Linked DNA regions of Homo sapiens: region 2 is linked to region 1. The links are contacts of gene promoters, found by promoter capture Hi-C in blood cells and fetal thymus (Javierre and others, 2016). All regions are on one chromosome and are shown on one strand. Each heading gives the region's core, a stretch centred on a gene start or on the middle of the fragment in contact. The rest is flanking DNA. Distances are from core to core; before and after follow the strand shown.

What was found. The method cuts DNA at HindIII sites, captures the fragments that hold promoters and counts their contacts. A CHiCAGO score of 5 or more calls a contact.
Region 2: a fragment that was not itself captured here is called in contact with the fragment with the promoter of SLC24A2 in region 1 in 2 of 17 cell types (naive B cells and activated CD4 T cells); the score reaches 7.7 in naive B cells.

What each region holds. Positions count from the first base shown.
Region 1 is chr9:19,787,195-19,790,692 of GRCh38, forward strand. It overlaps SLC24A2 (solute carrier family 24 member 2), which reads right to left and starts at 1,843. Exons shown (of 11, transcript NM_020344.4): 1 at 1,691-1,843. It overlaps LOC124902128 (a long non-coding RNA gene), which reads left to right and starts at 1,965. Exons shown (of 2, transcript XR_007061432.1): 1 at 1,965-2,084. RefSeq lists an enhancer at 759-1,406. The HindIII fragment of the contact is 3,775 bases long and covers 1-2,648 here.
Region 2 is chr9:21,123,455-21,126,952 of GRCh38, forward strand. No RefSeq gene overlaps it. Among named protein-coding and RNA genes, the nearest start is that of IFNW1, 17 kb to the right of the region's middle. The HindIII fragment of the contact is 754 bases long and covers 1,127-1,880 here.

The DNA of each region.
Region 1 (3,498 bases), core at 593-3,092:
CCCAGGATTGTTTTCAAGATGAGTAAAAACATATGTAGCACTTAGTATGGGATGTGGCACTTATGAAGATGTATGTATAAACCCAAATAAATATTTTGGTAAATCCAATGTTAGGTGCAGAGAAGGCAGATGTAAGAATAAAAATTTTACAGGTGAAAATCTATCAGATTATCTCACCTTAAATCATGTAATAACCTTCCAGTGCTATAAAGGTACCTAGACTTCTTTCAGAACTGTCTAGGTACTTGGCAACTAACAATTATTCATTGTTTACTTTTGGTCCAATTACATAATTCTCAGTTGTAGGCAACTTTTTCTGATTTAACCTATCATTTGGAAAGTGAGTGATTCTTTAATTTAGTGATCTTTTTTCTGCACACATAATGATATCAGATCTTATTTTTCATAAAAAGTCTCTCCTTTATCAGATGCGGGAAAGTAGTCCTTTACAAATTTAAGTTTACAAAAAAAAATTCTGGTGACATGCACAAGCTGCCTTCCCTAAACATCTAGACATTGTTTTCAGCTAAATATTTTTTTTAAAAAAACAACCTTTAGTCATATTTAAAATAGGCAGCTTAGTAAGTCAAAGAACTCCCAATGCAGTGAAATAACAAGTAGGCTATTTCGAGAGACCACATGTGTATTTCATAAACAATACGCAAGTTGTAGCAATACCTCTGTCCACAAAATCTGCCCAAAATAGCCCCACCACTGACTTTAATAGGTTAGATATCCAAAGCAGAGTTTTCTTTCTCTATCCCACGGAGGAGATGGGTAAAATAGCCAGACTTGACAGCTGATATTCTGAAGAGTTCTCTTTTTAGTTTTTCTTTAAAAAGACTATTCTTTTCCATATCAACGATTTCATTTTGGAGGCAGTCGCTGAGATAATCTCAGGTGTAAAATAAGCTAATTAAACACACGCCACTTAAATACTGAGATTAGCTGGAGCTCAGGTTTTCAGAGCAAAGCAAGAGCACAAATCAACCCCGCTGAGTTGCTGCTACTCCTGAGATAACCCGACCCCATCACGGAGATTCCCAGGTGGCTGCGAACGTCAACGCTTAGCAGGAACGATTAAGCGATTCACAGCACTCAGGGGATTGTGTAAATGCCCGGCCCGGGCGACCAGCAGGGACAGATTCAACTCCCCGGGCGCAAAGTCATCTCCAGCCCGATCCTCGCTCCCCCTGAAAACCCACCGCTCGTCTCCCCGGGAGCTGCCTCCGTAGGAGAATGTTCGCCCCCAGCCGCGCCCCAACTTTGCCTTGCGTGGTCCCAAACTTTCCCTGGTGGATTAATAGGAAAATAAATCTAAAGGACAGACGCCCCACCTGTGAGCTTGGAGCTGGGTTGCATTTGGTGAGGCGCTTGGCCCGCATCCCCCTGAGTCGTTTGTAGGTGGCTGGGGAATGGAAGCGCCCCTCTGCGCGTCTCCCCCGACGGCAGGCCCTGCCCCACGCCCCCCATCCCAAGCCAAAAGCAAGGGTAGGAGAGGCGGGGGCTCCAAATCCACGCCCCGGAGCACAGAGAGTTGGCTAACTCCTAGCGGGGCCTGGGGCGCCCACATCCACGGCAGAGCCACCTGTGAGCCTGCAGAGCAGCAACGGGATGCGCGCAACCGGGATGCGGGGACGACCGCCACAGCGGCTACAGCGGCAGGCGGGGCGCAGCCGCCCGCACTTACCAGGATAAGATGGGAGGACGCGCACACGGCGGGGCCCCCGAGCGCGGCCCGCCGCTCCAGTCCGCCGGCCCTCCGCCTACCCGCTCTGAGGCCCGGGCTCTGGCTCGCACTGGCTGCCGCTCTCGCCAGCCGGGCTGGGTTCGGGAGGAGACTGAGCCGCTGTGAGCCCGGCGCTCCGAGTCTGGCGCTGCCCGGCCCCCGCCGGCCCCTCCCTCTGGGCTGTGCGCTGTGCGCTGGGAGCGGGGCCGCAGCGCGCTCAGCTCCCGAGTCCTTTGCTCCACGCCTCCTGGGCGCAGAGGCGACGCTGGCAGCCGTCTCTTAGGAGATTTCTCCGCAGTGTGGACGGGGGTCAGGATTTGCAGGCGAGCAAGGGCAGAGAGGAGAAATCGTACAGGTCGGTGACGCGCCTAATTCACAAAGCCTGAAAGTGCTGTCAACTTTGGGGTCATCTTATGCTGGGCACCGCCTCTCCAATTATCTGCAAAAAGTGATAGCAGTCGCGCTTTTCTTTAGGAGGCGATGTGATGTGTAATGGTGGAAAAGACGTTCAATGAAAAGGCACGGAGGCCTGCAGGACAGGCTGTTGGGGTCCAGGGTTTCTTGAGTGTTGGATTTGGATGCTTGGGACACTGCAGGGGCTTCAGTCTTGCAGGGTGACCTTTCATTTCATGGGTGATGAAAGTGAGACCCAAAACCCCGTGTCATTTTGAATCACTGACAGGCTTCGGCTTTTGGCCTCGGGATGTCCAGCCCAGTGCTCCTTCCTGTCCTATCTGGAAAGCAAGATCCCCTTGACCACAAGAAATAGAATCAGGCTTGTTGGGGATGAGAGACTAGAATCTGGGCCAAAGAATGGAAGACGGTGGTAAGACAAATTGGTAGTGAGGGAACCCCTTTTACCCAACCCTGTGACCACCAGCAAAGCTGCCAAGAGGTACCCAACTCGTGAAGCTCTGAAAGCTTTTCGCACATTTTCCCCTCTCCTTACCCTCCATCCTTCTGTTCTCTCCCCCATCCAAGAGGGTTTCTTCATGCCCTCCTTACAATGGGGGTAATGGGTATATCCTGAGAGCTCATGACCTCTGACTTAGAGTACAGCTCTGTAGTCAGACCTCTGGGCCTACTCATCAATAAGTAAAGGGAAGCCTAGGGAACTTAGAAATATTTTTCTTCCCCCCACCCCCCAATCAAAGCCAGGCATTCAAGACTCAACTTTTCTTTTTCTTTCTCCTTTCGAGACTGAATCTTGCTATGTTGCCCAAGCTTGTCTTGAATTCCTGGGCTCTAGCCATCCTCCAGCCTCAGACTCCCAAGTGCTTGCAGACTATAGGTGCCTGACTGAATTTTTTTATCTTTAACTTTTAATTTAGAAAATTTCAAACATATACAAATGTAAGAAAGTAGTATAATGAATCTCCATGGGGCCATAACCAGCTTGAACAATTATGAACTCATGGACAGTCATATTTCATCTATACCCCTTTTTCCTATGTCATCATTTTGAAGCAAATCCCAGAGCATCATATCATTTTATCTGTAAATATTTTCAGAAAGCAAGAAAACTATCAACTACCACTAGGGTTGTGTCAAGAAGGGGACAATTCAAATAGGCTGTCACTGACCAAAGACGGGCTAATTTGAGCATCAAAAAAAAAAAAAAAAAAGATAATCGCAATTGTTTAAAACACATCAAACATGATTATATCTATTAATTGATAATATTTTAAAAACAACTGAACAGATTGATTGCTTGATGGTTCAGAGGGAACCAGCTCATAATTTTCAAAACTGTTTTAGGAAAAGGAAAA
Region 2 (3,498 bases), core at 254-2,753, 1.3 Mb after region 1:
GGACATATCTCTATCTCTGCTCACTAGAAGTAACCACTATTCTGAGTTTTATGGCAAACACTTCTTTTCTTTCTAATTTTATCCTAAACCATGTGGTCCAGTTTTGCCTGTTTTTAAACTTTTTATAAATAGAATATGTGTTCTTTCAGATTCAGCTTCTTTTACTCACCATTATGTTTGTGAGGCTCATCTCTGTGTAAACAGTTGTAGTTCTTGATTTTTATTGTTGCTTATGATCTTATTATATGCATGGACTGCAATATATTTATGAATACAACTTTTACAGGATATTTTAAGAGAATTGCTTTGGCTATTCGAGGTCTTCTGTTGTTCCATACAAATTTTAGGATTATTTTTCCTATTTTTGTGAAGAACATCACTGAGATTTTGATAGGGATTATGTTGAATCTGTAAATATACAACATATGTGTAGTATGGCCACTTTAAAAACCTCAGTTCTTTCAATGTGTGAACACAGGATTACTTTCCATTGATTTGTGTATTCTTCAATTTCTTGCATTAATGTTTTATAGTTTTTAGTGTATAGGTCTATCTCCTCTTTGGTAAAATTTATTCCTAAGTATTTTTAATGCTATTATAAATTAGATTATTTTCTTGAATTTTTTCAGCTAAGTTATTTGTGTATATAAATGCAAGTGATTTTCATTACATTGATTTTGTCTCCTACAACTTAACCAAATTTATTTCTTAGTTCTAACCGTTTTGGTGGAGTCCTTGGCGTTTTCTACATACAGAATCATGTCATCTACAATTAGAGATAACTTCTTCCTTTCCCCTTTGGATGCCTTTTATTTCTTCTTCTTCTTCTTCTTCTTCCTCTTCTTCTTCTTCTTCTTCTTCTTCTTCTTCTTCTTCTTCTTCTTCTTCGTCTTCGTCTTCGTCTTCTTCTTCCTCTTCCTCTTCCTCTTTCTCTTCTTCTTCTTCTTCTTCTTCTTCTTCTTCTTCTTCTTCTTCTTCTTCTTCTTCTTCTTCTTCTTCTTCTTCTTCTTCTTCTTCTTCTTCTTCCTTTTTTTTTGATCTGATTTCTCTGGTAGGACTTCTAGTACTACATTGAATAAAGGTAGCGTGAGTGAACTTCCTTGCTTTGTACTGATCTTAGACAAAAAGCTTTATTTTTCCCCCCATTGATTTTGATGTTAGCTCTGACTTTCTCACAAATGGCCTTTATTATGTTGAGGATGTTTACTCCAATACCTAAGCTATTAGGAGTTTTTGTCTAAAAAGGATGTTTAATTTTGTTGAATCCTTTTTCTGCTTCAATTGAAATAATCATGTGGTTTTTAATCTTGTCTTTTCTATAAAATTTTCAAGACCACTTCCAAATATGAATTCAATTACACTAAACCAAATTCACGAATCATTTCAGAAGATCTAAACATGAAACTGGTTTTGCATTTCAGATTACTGATGTTGAATCATGCTTAAAACCATTTAAAATGAAATTTCTACAGAATGTAAATGGTCAGAATATTTAAGAGCCAAGTTACTAGCTACTTTTTTGCAAATCAGATGTATTCATTGAAAAATTGCTTCCCTTAAATATTTAACATCTGAAGATGCTTAGTTTAAATTTTCGTATCTCCATTTCAGAGTTGAAATTAAGATGTGAATAAACCCCTATTTTAAATAATATCCCTAGATCATGTAAGAATTGATACTTTAATCCAGTGATGTCTCCATTTCTAATTGCTTAACATTTTTCGAATTTATTTTCACATTTGGGAAGTGTATTCGTATCTCTTACTAGCATTTTACATTTATCAAACATACTCTCAAAGTTACTTTCATTTGTTGTAAACAAAAGGGTAGGTCTTCTATGAAGCCAGCTGCTTTATATAAAGACTTTTCTTTTTAAATAAAGCTTTCTTATTTTTTCCTACTTGGTTCAAAATATCCCACCAAATTAATTTGCATAAACATGTGCAGTCTCTTTGTGCCAAGATGCTTTAGATTTCAGCACAATGTACTATGTCATTTAATATTATATCATTAATATTTGATAAACATCTTTAGTTTGTGTGTGAAGTGCCATAATTTTGTTTGTTCTTGATCCCCATTGAATGTCCGTTATGTTTTTAATACAGTTTTTAGGACAGATATAAGGATATTCTATTGCTCAAAGCTCAAAAATGTATTAATCCTTTGTACAATACTAAAAAAGAGTATCATATTTCAAGTCACCAAATCAACATTATTACAAATCAAATCAGAATTATTAGTTGAGTAGGCACAAATTTAGCATAACAATTTTTGAGGGAAATAATGGCTTGTTCACCATTTATCTATCTGCCATCTTTGCTTCATTTTCATATCCTTGGCCAAGAGCATTTTTATGTCAATATATTGAAAAAATTTCATAAGGCAAGCCATACCCAGTTTTTTATTTTATTTCAATAAAAAGTCAACCAACCTTTCTTTCCATGGTTTTGTCATTATTCTCAATGAGAGCATACTTAAACGCATCTGTTTATCATAGGCAACATCTACATATGTTTACAATTCAAAAGAAAGAATTTTTTCTTCCTTTTAAGTTTATTTTTAAATTGACAAAACAGTTTATATTTACCAGGTATAACATGTTGTTTTGAAATATATATGTTATGGAATGGACAAATTGAGTGCATTACCATAAGCATTACCTCACATACTTATGGTTTTTTGTAGTAAGAACGCTTAAAAAGTACTTTCTTGGCAATTTTCAAGAATATAATACATTGTTACTAATGACTAACTGCAGTCACCATATTGTTCAATAGATCTTTTGGACTTATTCCTCCTATCTAACTGAAATTATGTATCCTTTGACCAACATCTTCCCAATACTACACTCCTCCAGCCCCTGGTAACCACCACTCCACTCTCTACTACTATGAGTTTAACTTTTTAAGATTCCATATGTAGGTGAGATTATGCACTGTCTTTCTATGCCTTGCTTATATCAGTTAACATAGTGTCATCCAGATTCATTCATGTTGTCTCAAATGACAAAATTTCCTTCCTTTTTAAAATGGCAAATAGTATACCATTTTGTACATACTATTCATACATTCTCTTTATCTATTAATCTCTTCATTAACATTTAGGTTGTTTCCATATCTTGGCTATTGTGAATAGTATTCCAATGAACATGGGAGTGCAGATATCTCTTTGACATACTGATTTCATTTCCTTTGGATATATTCTCACTTGTGGGATTGTTGCATCATATGGTTGTTCTATTTCTAATTTTTATAAAAGCATCAAAAGTAACAAACAATTATGAACAAATGTGATAGAAAATTTGCCAAGACTGTACACTGGAAACTGTAAAATGTCTCTCAGAGAAAACAGAGAAGACATAAACAAATGGGGAGAGATACCATGTTAAAGGATTAAAAGACTCAGTATTGTTAAGATATCAATTGTAATCAAATTGATCTGTAGACTCAATGCAATACCAATCAAAATTCCACCAGGCTTTTTGTATAGAAATTTAAA